2 separate regions of the Homo sapiens genome follow, and region 2 is linked to region 1. The links are contacts of gene promoters, found by promoter capture Hi-C in human tissues and cell types (Jung and others, 2019). All regions are on one chromosome and are shown on one strand. Each heading gives the region's core, a stretch centred on a gene start or on the middle of the fragment in contact. The rest is flanking DNA. Distances are from core to core; before and after follow the strand shown. Region 1 holds the start of OR6V1 (olfactory receptor family 6 subfamily V member 1). Region 2 has its middle 11 kb from the start of PIP.

The links. The method cuts DNA at HindIII sites, captures the fragments that hold promoters and counts their contacts. A contact is called where the count stands out against the background at its distance.
Region 2: a contact is called between a fragment that was not itself captured here and the fragment with the promoter of OR6V1 in region 1, in 2 of the 25 tissues and cell types used here (H1 embryonic stem cells and heart right ventricle).

Annotation. Positions count from the first base shown.
Region 1 is chr7:143,048,996-143,056,098 of GRCh38, reverse strand. OR6V1 (olfactory receptor family 6 subfamily V member 1) reads right to left here and starts at 3,758. Exons shown (of 1, transcript NM_001001667.1): 1 at 2,817-3,758. The coding sequence starts at 3,758. The coding sequence ends at 2,817. RefSeq lists an enhancer at 6,364-7,103. The HindIII fragment of the contact is 14,465 bases long and covers 1-7,103 here.
Region 2 is chr7:143,117,435-143,124,537 of GRCh38, reverse strand. No RefSeq gene overlaps it. Among named protein-coding and RNA genes, the nearest start is that of PIP, 11 kb to the left of the region's middle. The HindIII fragment of the contact is 3,524 bases long and covers 2,914-6,437 here.

The sequences.
Region 1 (7,103 bases), core at 2,509-5,008:
TCCATGTATACTCAATATTTAGCTCCCATTTATAAGAGAAGATGTGGTATTTGGTTTTTTGTTTCTGTCTTAATTTGCTTAGGAAAATGGCTTCCAGCTCCATCTGAGTTGCTGCAAAGGACATGCCCTCACTCTTTTTTATGGCTGCATAGTATTCCATAGTGTATATGTACCACATTTTCTTTATCCAGTCCACCATTGATGGGCATCTAGGTTGCTTCTATGCCTTTGATATTGAAACACAAATCTTTAAAAGTAACATTGAATCTATACTTGCTTTCTGCCAATATGTGTTTCTTTCAAGTGATGGATACTAAATGTGCAATTACTGTGAGGAAGGGGTTACTAGAATTGTTGCCATTACAAATCTACAAACTTGTAGAATCTTGATAGATATGTGCTCAGTAAGGGTCTAGAGGAGGCAAAACTGAGCAGCTTCAGATCCTGGAGGTTCCAACTTTGAATTAACCCAACTTTTAATTCAGATGGAAGAAGAAAATTCCAAAGATGGGGAGATGGAAAAAAAGGTTTGAAGAACCAGATCCTGCTGTCGGTTCTGCAATTTCTTTGACCAACTCATTCTTCCTCTCAGCCATGTTTCCCTTACCCGCTAAAGCGGGTCGGGAACACCGCTTGCTGCAGTTTCAGAATCAGAAATTTTCCTTCCGAGCTCTCATACTCTATAGGAAAACACCTTATTGAAATTAACCACACTTTTAAATTTCTCTCAGTACATGGAACCCCTTGAGGTCAGACTCCTCATTTCTTTCATCTTTAACAGCCACTGCTGAGTGGAGTGTTTTGCTCATGATGGGTGATCAGTGAATATTTATTTAACTGAATTACTATGAGGGTAAAACCAAATGGAAAATATATGTAAAAGTGGTTCATAAAGTATGAAAAGTATACAAAAGTAAGATATTGTTAGTAGAATTATTCTTAATTTACTCATCCTTCTTTCATTTACTCTACAAATACTTTTCTAGGTAGCAAGCAGAGAATAAACAGAGGAAAAAAACATCAATTCATTCAATAGCAACTGCAAACAACAGAATCATTGCTCTGTTATGTAATTAAAGAACAAGCAAAATTTTGGTCCAGAAACTGAAACTGGGAATGTGAAAAGACCCTCCGACTTGGCTAAGGGGTATCTCAGCAAGAAAGAAAGACACTTTCAGAAAGCCAGAGAAAGGGATGCCTCGTTTAGGAAGGAGTTAGCTTGGGGTAAGAGGAGGTCACAAGGAGAACCAATGGGTTGGTAAGCAAGCTGCATCTCTCAAGCTCCAAATGAGCTTACCTCATTCATTTCCACATAGTGGATTTTTTAAATGCTTGACATTTGTGATAAATTAGTAGTTTTATTGTTTTCAAGTAAGTGTAGCTACGAATAAACTCCTGGTTGTAGTTTATATATCACAAATTGGGATATGGAGTTTGGTAAATTAAAGTGTACTTACAGAAACAGTGTGTCAAAACAACTTAAATTGGGGCTACTTTAGAAAATTCTGCATGGGCAAAAGCTAAGGGAACACCATGATCCTGAGGTCAAAGTAACTGGAAGATTTTAAAAATTTCAGGCTATAGTTGGAGGAGGGAGGACAGTGGAGCTGATGTTTAACTCCAAAGGCAGCATGGGACATAATAGATTTTCAAGAATTTTATACCCACACGTATGTGAATGTAATATAATGTTCATATTTTATGTAATGTACAATATAATATGTATGTGTGTAAAATAGGATATATAATCACTGAATAAGTGAACTTACTAGGTTTATTACAATCCCTTGCCTTTAGGCAAATGAATGTTTCTAATCATACAGGAGCAAAGTTTATTTTGTCTTTCTAAAACTCTGAATATTTCCTCTCTGGAAACCACATAATTCCTCACTAGCGGAGATTTATCTTGTTTTAATTTCTCTCTGTTTCATCTTTCTCTGATGCAAAGGTACCTGATGAATTGCACTCTCACAGTGTCCACCTTATAGTCAATGTGCTACTCAGGTGTCATCTTGTCAGGAAGCCGTCGCTGAGCCTCCTCCTGGTCTCAGTGTTGCTCCCCTGTGTGCTCATAATACCGTCTGTGAATCCACTGTTGCACGTTCCCCACTGTGCTGGAAACAGCTATTTATCACTTTTTCCTTCCTTAGGCCAAGAGCTTTGTCAGGTTAAGAACCATTTATGCCTTTTTTACCTTTCTACCCTCTACCTGTTACAGTGCCTGACACACACAGCCTACTCAATGTTGAAGAAATGAATGAATAAATGGATGAATAATTATACAAGGACCCAGTCCTCCTCCCAACACTCACACACACATTGAAAAACAATCAGTTTGTTTTTGGTAAGTTTTGCTTCTTCTCTTGATCCCATGTAGCCCAAGCACTTATGGTGCATACACTCAGCAGCAGTGCATACTGTGATAGAGAAGCACACCCGGAACATGCACACGCATACACACATATGTACACACATACACACCCATGCACACATACTGGGATTGGACACTACCTCTTGATCATAGAGCACTTCTTGGCTGCTCTTCCTTAAATGCAAAGCACATGCACTTCCCTTTACTGAAAGCTCTGGGCTACTCTCAGAGTTCTTACGGCTGCCAGGGGATGTAGGGAACTCTTCCATGGTGGTCCATAAGAGCTTTGGGCCAGACAGTGCAGCACTCAGGGCTCACTGTAGTTATTGCTCAGAGGGAAAAAAACTAAAGAAACTCAGCAGTGTTCTTCCCACTTGCTGGAGGTCTCCCTCCCCACAGAACTGCTCAATGGAGGCAGGCCAGGTTCCCCTGGGCCCTGGGCTCATCATTGTGCCTTGCAAAGGCCTTTCAGCCTCTGCATCTGCCCCTGTAGCACTGTTTTAACTGTCTGATTGCAGAAGGTAAGGATAAAGGGATTGAGAAAGGGGGTGAGAACTGAAGTCACCAAGGCCACGACCTTCCTGACTTGCACAGAGTGAGCTTTGCCAGGCCTGACATACAGAAAGATGGTACTACTGTAGCCGATGAAGACCAGTGTGAGGTGAGACCCGCAAGTGGAGAAAGCCTTCTGGCAGCTGCTGGCAGAGGGGATCCGCAGCACAGTGGTCACTATGTAGCCATAGGAGATGAGGGTCACCAGGAAGGAGCTGAGGACAAAGGTCAAGGCCATCAGAAAGTCCCAGAATTCCAACAGGCGAGTGTCAGAGCATGACAACTGCAGGAGAGGTTCATTGTCACAGAAGAAGTGGTTGATGACGTCGCCATGGCAGTAATCAAGATGAGCTCGGGAGAGGACAGTGGGTACCATGGCTAGGAAAGGAGCTGCCCAGGCAGCCCCAGCCAGCTGGACACACATAGCCCGGCTCATCAGAGTGCCATAGCGCAGTGGGTGGCAGATGGCCACAAAGCGATCAAGGGCCATGTCTGTCAGGATGAGGAAGGAGGTGGACCCCAGGGAAAAGTGGAAGTAGAACTGGACCATGCAGCCAGTGAAGGTAATGACTTTGTGGGGGACCAACAGGTCTGAGAGCATCCTGGGCACTGCAGTCATGGTTACCAAGATCTCCAGCAGGGAAAAATTGCCCAGGAAGAAGTACATGGGTGTATGTAGGTGGGTGTCAGCTATGACCATAACTATGATGATGGTGTTTCCCATGAAGGCGAGAAGATAAAGCATGAGGAAGGGGCCATACAGAAGGGCCTGCAGCTCACCAAAGGAGGAGAAGCCCAAGAGGACAAATTCGGAGGGCTGGCTCAGATTTGCCATGATCCACAGTATGGGGCCCTGCATGCAAGAGAAACAAAAGACAGACGGAGAGGCAGAAACAGAGAGATAGAGACAGAGAACCATTGAACTTGAAACAGAAGAAACAGGGACAGAGACAGAGAATAGAGAGAGAAAGGCAAGTAGCCAGCGAGTGATAAACAGAAAAGCAGAAAGAAACGGCAATAAAGAAAGATAACAAAACAGGAATGGGAGAGTCAAGGAGAAACAGAGTGAGGGTATGAGAGAAGTGAAAGACATAGAAAGCCATTATTAAGAAGAGAGAAGGCTGGGGATGGTGGTTCATGCCTGTAATCCCAGCACTTTGGGAGGCCGAGGCAGGGGGAACACTTGAGGTCAGGAGTTCAAGACCAGCCTGGCCAACATGGTGAAACCCTGTCTCTACTAAAAATACAAAAATAAGCCAGGTGCAGGCAACTGTAATCTCAGCTACCTGCAAAACTGAGGCATGAGAATCGCTTGAACCTGGGAGGTGGAGGTTGCAGTGAGCCGAAATCGTGCCACTGCACTCCAGCCTGGGTGACAGAGTGAGACTCCATCTCAAAAAAGAAAAAAAAAAAGGGGGGGAAGAAAGAAAAACAGAGGAAAAGATTAAGGAAGACCACATGGCAACAGACATTGACATTTAGGGAGAAAACAAGAAGGAAACAACAGAGGACCAGAGAAAGAACAGAAAAAATTCAAATAGAGAAATACAGGAAGGGGAGGAACACAGAAAAAGAGAGGGAGAGAGAGCATTAGTGCATGTGACCCAGAAGCCCCCAAATGTAGGCTAATCCGTCTATGTCACACCCAGAGGTTGTGCCCCAAGACCCTTTTTAAAGGGTCCCTGCAAACCTTTCTGAGCTGCCTCTCTGAGGACCCTCGCTTGTGCACATTTCTCCGGCTATGATCATGAAATTAGTGAAAGTCAGAGTTTTGAGTCCAGAAATTAACTTCCTTTAGAGGAGACCTCTGCTTCGTGTTTGCAAAGATGGAGAGCAGAAAGGGTGCAGCAGGTCAGGGAGCGAGCCTGGAAATCCAAGTGGCTGCTCTCCCAGGACACACACAGTCATCAGGCTTCCCAACGGCATAATCTGTCTACCCAAGGGTGCTGCTTTGCCGTCTCCATTGCACTTCCCCTCCCGCCGTGGTGCAAAGTGTAAGCTATGGAGTTGGCTTGCCTGTGTTTGAATTCTGGCTCTAGACTTGCTTGTCACGGGCCGTAAATCTGCTCTTCTTTGTTACTTACTCTCTCTGAGCCCGTTTATTCAGCTGTAAAATAATGGTATTACTGGTACTTAGCCTCTATGGTGATTATAAAATTAAATAAGTAAACTACTTAGTGCAGTGACTAGCACATACTAGCCAACAAATCGTTGTTGTTATTGTTATCACTGTTCTTATTGTTAGACCGTCAATAGAACTCAAATTTTTTTTGCCCATCATCTCTCTACACTTCTTCTCATTGCCAGCATGTGTGTGTGTGAAGATCTTTACAGCTTTACACTGTTTCTTGGAATTTCAGTTCACTAAAAGGGTACTTTAAAACATTTCAAACACAAACAAAGTATTTACAACACAAACTGTCAGGAGTGGAAGGAGTGAAGCTGTGTGTAGATATACTCTGGCCCTTTCTCCAGCCCCATAAATGCTTCATTTGGGGTTGTGTCCTGGCCACACAGCAATGACATTCTAATTTTAAAAAGCCTTGCACCCGGCCAGGCGCGGTAGCTCACGCTTGTAATCCCAGCTGTTTGGCAGGCTGAGGTGGGCGGATCACGAGGTCAGGAGTTCAAGACCAGCCTGGCCAACACAGTGAAACCCCGTCTCTACTAAAAATACAAAAATTAGCTGGGCATGGTGGCGGGCACTTGTAATCCCAGCTACTTGGGAGGCTGAGGTAGGAGAATCACTTGAACCTGGGATGTGGGATTGCAGTGAGCTGAGATCATGCCAATACACTCCAGCCTGGATGACAAAGCTAGACTCCATCTCAAAAACAATAAAAAATAAATAAATAAATAAATAAATAAATAAATAAATAAATAAAGCCTTGCACCCATGCCACTGGCAAGCCTTAACGGTAGGTCTAAAATCCTAAAATCTACCCCAGCACTGACTAAATTCAAACCCAGTCCTTATGTTTGTGTTGCATGAGAACCTGACTGACATACAGACTTCCCCCCCTCACCTTAGCCTCCAAGCCTGTTGTCTTCTTTGTAAGCTGCTCTCACTTAGGCATTCATACCTGGAGACACCTGCCTACTGGCCTCACTCTATAACATGAATGACATCAGAGATGCAGTCTCTTTCCCTTGGGTTGTGTCTTGCGGCTGGAAAGGGTGGAAAGGGGCTTTGTGCACAGCTTGGAAGAGGTGGCACTGCTGGGTGAGCTAAAACTCTGCCAGTCCTTATGCTGATTTTCTAATTCAGCACCTACCCTGTGTCACTACAAAGCCAGGGGCAGCAGCATTGATGTGGGGCTGGGAGATGGGAAATAAGTCCCTCAGGAGACCAGAGGGGAAAGGTGCTGATTCTGTCCATTCTCTCTCAAGGATGAGTGTTTTCAGCTCTTTCTCTCATCCACATCTCCAAGTCCTTCGTGTCTTGATGATGTTTACAGTTCAGCTTATGCTGGATGGGAAACTTAGACTCCAGCAGAGTGTTTTCTGTGGGAATGACAGGAAGCCAAGGAGCCCTCTGGGGACTTCTGAGGCACTGACGTTGCTCCTTAGAATAATGAGATGTCCTCTGTTTTGAGGAAGTAACATTTGAGAAAAAGATCTGAATAAAGAAATGGATAAAGACCCAGATACACCCAAGCAGCTGACGGCTTAGGATCAGCACCTCGGCAGTGCCTGTCTCCTGGCCCTTCCCCTCCTCCCAGGACCATGGAAAAAATATGAGATCATGGAAAAAACACAAAGGAATTTTCCCAGCTGGACTAAAATTATGACAGCCTGGGTACCTAGCCAGGGCTGGATCCAGAGTTTCCATTTGCAGACAAAATCTCCAAGTGGATCCAGGGTTTAGGGATCTAGGGAGGCAGGGAATGGAGGCCCTGGACCATAGCAGCCTCTTGTTAAAATTCTCCAAAGAAAGTATCATTTGGAGAAGTCTGGGAATCAAACAGATATCTGCCTCCAGAGGCAGGGCCCTTGGTGGACACATCTTGGGATCTGGCTCCTGTGAGAAGATACACACCCTGGGGACAAAGGTAAAGGGAATATGGGGAGGCCACTCCAAGCTTCCAGCTCCCTAGTAAACTCTGAGTCACAGTCTTTCATCTCAGAGACATTTAAACCTTATGCATGATACCCAGTGCAACCCCACCCACACTGAGAC
Region 2 (7,103 bases), core at 3,426-5,925, 68 kb before region 1:
TGTACATTCTGTGTATAGAATTGTTATCCTTCTTATCCCTAATTCTAGTTACCATGTATTAATTAGAATTTTAACTCCTAGTAACCTTAATTCATAGTGAAAACCTAAGAAGTAAGCAATTTTTAAGTGTCAGTCACATACCAACGGTTTATGAATATGAATTTTTATAATATTTAGAAACATAGGCTTTCTAATGGAACATTCTTTAAAAATGTAGAACAGGGCCAGGCGCGGTGGCTCGTGCCTGTAATCCCAGCACTTTGGGAGGCTGAGGCAGGATGATCATGAGTTCAGGAAATCAAGACCCTCCTGGCTAACATGGTGAAACCCCGTCTCTACTAAAAATACAAAAAATTAGCCGGGCATTGTGGCGGACACCTGTAGTCCCAGCTACTCGGGATGCTGAGGCAGGAGAATGGCATGAACCCAGGAGGCAGAGCTTGCAGTGAGTCGAGATTGCACCACTGTACTCCAGCCTGGGCGACAGAGCTAGACTCCATCTCAAAAAAAAAAAAATGTTGTGGGAAGTCAGGGACTCCAAACAGAGGGACTGGCTGGAGCCACGGCAGAGGAACATAAACTGTGAAGATTTCATGGACATTTATCAGTTCCCAAAATTAATACTCTTAAAATTTCTTATGCCTGTCTTTACTTTAATCTCTTAATCCTGTTATCTTCATAAGCTGAGAATGTATGTCACCTCAGGACCGCTGTTGTACAAATTGATTGTAAAACATGTGTGTTTGAACAATATGAAATCAGTGCACCTTGAAAACGAACAGATAACAGTGATTTTAGGGAACAAGGGAAGACAACCAAAGATCTGACTGCCTGCAGGGTCGGGCAGAATAGAGCCATATTTTTCTTCTTGCAGAGAGCCTATAAATGGACGTGCGAGTAGGAGAGATATCGCTGAATTCTTTTCCCAGCAAGGAATATTAATAATTAATACAATGGGGAAGGAATGCATTCCTGGGGGAGGTCTATAAACGGCTGCTCTGGGAGTGTCTGTCTTATGTGGTTGGGATAAGGGCTGAAATACGCCCTGGTCTCCTGCAGTACCCTCAGGCTTATTAGGGTGGGGAAAAGATCCTGCCCTGGTAAATTTGAGGTCAGACTGTTTCTCTGCTCTTGATCCCTGTTTTTTGTTGTTTAAGATGTTTATCAAGACAATACGTGCACAGCCGAACGTAGACCCTCCTCAGTAATTCTTTTTTTTTTTTTTTTTTTGAGACATGGTCTCGCTCTGTCACCCAGGCTGGAGTGCAGTGGTGTGATCTTGGCTCACTGCAAGCTCCGCCTCCCGGGTTCACGCCATTCTCCTGCCTCAGCCTCCCGAGTAGCTGGGACTACAGGCGCCCACCACCATGCCTGGCTAATTTTTTTTGTATTTTTAGTAGAGACGGGGTTTCACTGTGTTAACCAGGATGGTCTTGATCTCCTGACCTCGTGATACACCTGCCTTGGCCTCCCAAAGTGGTAGGATTACAGGCGTGTGCCACCACACCCGGCCCAGTAATTCTAATTTTGCCCTTTGCCTTGTGATCTTTGCTTTGACCTTTGCCTTGTGATCTTTATTGCCCTTTAAAGCATGTGATCTTTGTGACCTACTCCCTGTTCATACACCCCCTCCCCTTTTAAAGTCCTTAATAAAAACCTGCTGGTTTTGTGGCTCAGGGGACATCATGGACCTACCGATATGTGAGGTCACCCCCAGAGGCCCAGCTGTAAAATTCCTCCTTTGTACTCTTTCTCTTTATTTCTCAGACTGGCCGACAGTTAGGGAAAATAGAAAGGACCTATGTTGAAATATTGGGGGCTGGTTCCCCCGATAAAAATGTAAAACAGGACATTTTTACTAAGAAATATAAATATCTTTTGTTTCTCTGAAATAAGAAGTCAAAAGTATTTAAGCTTCAACTCATAGTCATTAATGTCTTAGAATTGTATCTTATTTAGAGATAATTTAGATATTCAATGAATATCCATCCTTTAATTTAGCATAGCAAATTTTGAGGGTATAGTTAACAAAAAGATTTTAAAAACCTTTAAAAATGTTTGTATTAGTCAGGGTTCTCTAGAGGGACAGAACTAATAGGATACATGAGTTTATTAAGTATTAACTCACAGGATCACAAGGTCCCACAATAGGCCGTCTGGAAGCTGAGGAGCAAGGAAAGCCAGCCTGAGTCCCAAAACTGAAGAATATGGAGTCTGATGTTTGAGGGCAGGAAGGGTCCAGCTTGGGAGAAACATGTAGGCTGGGAGGCTAGGCCAGTGCAGTGTTTTGTTTTGTTTTCTTTTTTTTTGAGGTGGAGTCTCACTCTTGTCACCCAGGCTGGAGTGCAGTGGTGCGATCTCGGCTCACAGCAATCTCCACCTCCCGGGTTCAAGTGATTCTCCTGCCTCAGCCTCCTGAGTAGCTGGGATTACAGGTGCCTGCCACCACATCTGGCTAATTTTGGTATTTTTAGTAGAGACAAGGTTTCACCATGTTGGCTAGGCTGGTCTCGAACTCCTGACCTCAGGTGTTCCACCTGCCTTGACCTCCCAAAGTGCTGGGGTTACAGGCGTGAACCACTGCACCTGGTCCCAGTCTTGTCATTTTACGTTTTCCTGTCTGCTTTATATTCTAGCAGCTGATTTTGATGGTGCTCACCCAGATTAAGGGTGGGTCTGCCTTTCCCAGCCCACTGACTCAAATGTTAGTCTCCTTTGGCAACACCCTCAAAGACACACCCAGGATCAATAATTTGCATTTTTCAGTCCTATCAAGTTGACACTCAGAATTAACCATCACAACCTTTTTAAGTAAGCATATTATAAAACTTAATAGGTATTAATAGTTCATTTATGAACTCATCCCATTTACATCTATTTAATTTATTCACTCTTAACAATTATGTTTGGAAAAGTTTATAAGACATAGGACACATTTGGCCATCATCTCAAGTTAAATTTTCTATTAACTATTTTTATATTACTATATGTTAGGCAAGTATCCTAAAGGCAAGAAACTTAAAGGTTCATTTGGGCCTTTTTAAAAGTCAGTTTTGTCACTTGTATACTATATACAAACACAAACATTTACACAAGTATAAAAATACAGACAAAGATTTTATAGTTTTGATTTGTGAAAGGAAAATAAATCTTGGCACCACAAAATCACTAAGCCAAAGGGAAAAGGCAAGCCGGGGACTGCTTAGGGCAAACCTGCCTCCCATTTTATTATCCCTAAATAAGATAGCTACAGAGATAAGAAGCCACATACCTCCCTCACAATTTTCCCACAAGGAAATTCTTTGTGGACAAAGAACAGACAGAACTCAAAATTGTCCCTCTGAGGCTTGCCTGAGACAGATGCATATCTAATTACTTCCTCTGACCTATTGTTTATGTAAAAATGCAGATTCACTGAGACAGATTAAATTGTGTATTCAGTGGAAGACTGATCAAGTACTTAAAATAATGCAGCCTTTTGTCTTTTATCTACTTCTAACATGGAAACCCCCACTTTGAGTTGTCCTGCCTTACTGGAACGAACCAATGTACATTTTACACATTTGATTGATGCCTCATATCTCCCTAAAATAAAGCAAGCTGTACCCTGACCACCTTGGGCACATGTTGTCAGGATGTCCTGAGGCTGTGTCATGGGTGCTTTCTTAGCTTTGGCAAAACAAACTTTCTAATTTGACTGAGACCTGTCTCAGTTATTTAGGGTTCACAGATTTTAATATTTTACCCATGAGTCAGGCAAAACTCAGTAGTTTAAAAAGACAGTTGGAATCAAACTGTGGCTTTGTAAATGGAACGAGTTAAAGTTTATCTGTCTCACAGGCTGAAGCCCTTACTGATTTACAAAACAAGGTAGGAAATTTATGTTTCATAGTACAGAGAAAGAGTTTAAGCTTTCAAAAGGCCAGTGAAGTTTTACATCATTCTTGGCACAAATCATGTCAACAAAACAGAAGCAAACTAAGGGAGTGCATACAGTTAGTAAGGTATAAAAAAGAAATAAAATTCTAAGCCCCCTAACTGACTGATGGGCCCTCCCCTCTGCCAAGGACATTCCAAAGTTAATCTGAAAAATTAGTTCAGGCCATGATGGGAAGTGGGGTGCCACTGGACATGCCTCGCAGCTGACCAGTGTTAACATCAACACAAAGACCTTAAGACTAATAGAGCAGGCTGGATGTGGTGGCTCGCTCCTGTAATCCCAGCACTTTGGAAGGCAGAGGCAGGTGGATCACATGAAGTCAGGAGCATGGCCAACATGGTGAAACCCTGTCTCTACTAAAAATACAAAAATTAGCTGGGTATGGTGGCCCATGCCTGTAGTCCCAGCTACTTAGGAAGCTGAGGCAGGAGAATCACTTGAACTCAGGAGGTGGAGGTTCCAGTGAGCTGAGATTGCGCCACTGCACTCTAGCCTGGACAACAGAGTGAGACTCTGTCAAAAAAAATACTAATAGAATCTTTAAGTCTGATAGGAAACGTTTACAATCTATTCTCTCTGAGGCCCGCTACCTGGAGGCTTCATCAGTGTGATAAAACCTTGGTCTCTAAAATCCCTTATCTTAACACAGAAATTTCTTTGTATTGATTTCAGGTCTTTAGACAATAACTCTTTCAACCAATTGCCAATCAGAAAATCTTAGAATCTGCCTATGATCTGGGGCCCCCACTTCCTATTGTCCCATTTTTCTGGATTAAACCAATATACATCTTACATTAATTGATTGACGTCTTATGTCTCCCTAAAATATATAAAACCAAGTTGTAGTTCAACCACTTTGGGCACATGTTCTCAGGATCTCCTGAGAGCTGTGTCATGGGTCATTGGTCATTCTTATTGGGCTCAGAATAAATCTCTTCAAATATTTTACTGTTTTTCTTGACAAAAGGGTTAAGAAGAAAGAAATTTAGTCAACTGACAAGTTTTTATAGAGAACAGAGGCCCAATTAAAAAGTATATATGCATATGTATCTTAAATATCAGCTTTTAATTAAATCGACTTTTGACTATAGAGATCTTAAAAAAAAAACTTCAAGTCTCTTATCATATTTCAGCCAGAACAGTCAATATTCCTGCTTTTGTACCATTTCCCCCCTCTTTTAAACCAAAGGTATCTTTGCAAGTGACTCACCAAAACCAATAAGCTTTAACCAATGTTATGATGTAATCAATACATTGATCAACGAGCCTTCTCCAAAGAGATGCAGGACAGTTCTCACAAGATTCCAGATTCATGCCAAAGAAAGTTCAAAGAGAGAAAAGTTTTGCTAGCTACAAATGGGTGTACAACCCATATCACTCTGGCCATATTCTCTAGGGTCTCAGCTTCTCAGTTGACTGGCTACACAGAGAGTTCAGATGAAAAATTTAAAGAGATATTTAATGAAGCAGGAAGACAAAATCTGCCCATAGGGGTAGTGCCAAAAGGTGGGCAAATATAGGAAGGCAAATTTATAGAGGTAAAGTCTGCTCACAGATTCCCCTGGCCCATTAGTGGGCTAATAAGCAGCTGTCTCCAGTAAGGGAGGATTTATGTCCTCGCTTTAGGCAAACAAAAGAAGGGCAGAGAATCTCCCTGCCTTTTAGCTGTGTTTAGCTCAACAATCCTAAGTGTTTTAGAGGGTAATATTTTGGCTTCCTTCAGTAGAATGGATTACAAATGGGTGACCCAAAAGGTGTAGAGTCATACTAAAACCACCTTTGCAAAAATTGTATCAATGAGTAATATAACAGTAAGTTGAGCTAACTACCCCACTGCCCCATCTTGCTGTTTCCTTTATTCCTGGGCGATAGGGCTAAGCTAACTTTTTCTTTTTCTTTTTTTTTTTTTTGAGACAATGTCTTGCTCCATCACACAGGTTGGAGTGCAGTGGCACTATCTCAGCTCATTGCAACCTCTGTCTCCAGGGTTCAAGTTGTTTTCGTGCCTCAGTCACCCAAGTAGCTGGGATTACAGGAGTGCGCCACAATGCCTGGCTAATTTTTTTATTTTTAGTAGATTAGGTGTTTTCCCATGTTGGCCAGGCTGATCTCAAACTCCCGGCCTCAAGTGATCCACCCACCTCAGCCTCCCAAAGTGCTAGGATTACAGGCATGAACCACTGTGCCTCGCCCTAAGCTATAGTTTGGTGCAAAAGTAATTGCAGTTTTTGCCATTACTTTTAATGGCAAAACTGCAGTTAGCTTTGAACCAATCTAATACTTTTGGAAGACATTTAGACTATAGTTTAAATGATAGCAGGCCTAAAACTTAACAGGCTTTGTAAAGCTAATGGGAGGCCATGAGGCTTGGGGAAGGAGAGGAGGCTGAGTCTGGCTAAGACTCAGACATGAATGATTGTTTGCCACTATTCTTGAGGTTATAAGATAGGCAACTTCTCCAATTATTCCTGCAGATGACACCACTTTTGTAGACTGACCCTTTGAGACATCCTTTCAGGTTTTTTTGCATGTCTAACACCCATGGCTCCACCTGGACCCACCAATCCCACTGCTGTGGCCCCACCTACAAGCTATCCAGCCTGCAGGAGTACAGCTTTAACGCCTATGATTTCATCTCCAGCCCAACCAATTAGCAGCAAACCTAGCCACCCCGACCCCTTCCCCCAAACTGCCTTTGAAAAACTCCTAACCTATGAGCTTTGGATGAAATGATTTGAGTCCCAGTGAAGCAGCATCGTTCATCTGGGGTAATACCTGAGATTTGTTGCCTCACACCAAGGAAATCAAGGATGTGGATACACAAGCAGTGAGGTTAAGAACAGAGGCTTAACAGGCAAAAGAAAGAGAAAAGCTCTCTCCTGAAGAGAGAGGGGGTCCGGAGCAAGTTTTCCAGTCTGCAGTGAAGTGTAGGAAATTTTTTAGATGAGCTTGAGGAGGCGGTATCTGATTTACATAGGGCGTGAAAGATTGGTCAGGCCAGGTGTGCCATTTGCATAGCACAGAAAGAACTGGCTAGGACTAGGTGTGCTGTTTGCATAGCATGTGAAGAAGCTGCCCCCACCAACCCTAATCTTTTATTATGCAGGTGGGTTCTCTACCTGGCCAACACCATGTTGCCTGCTACTTTTTAAATTTTTTTTAA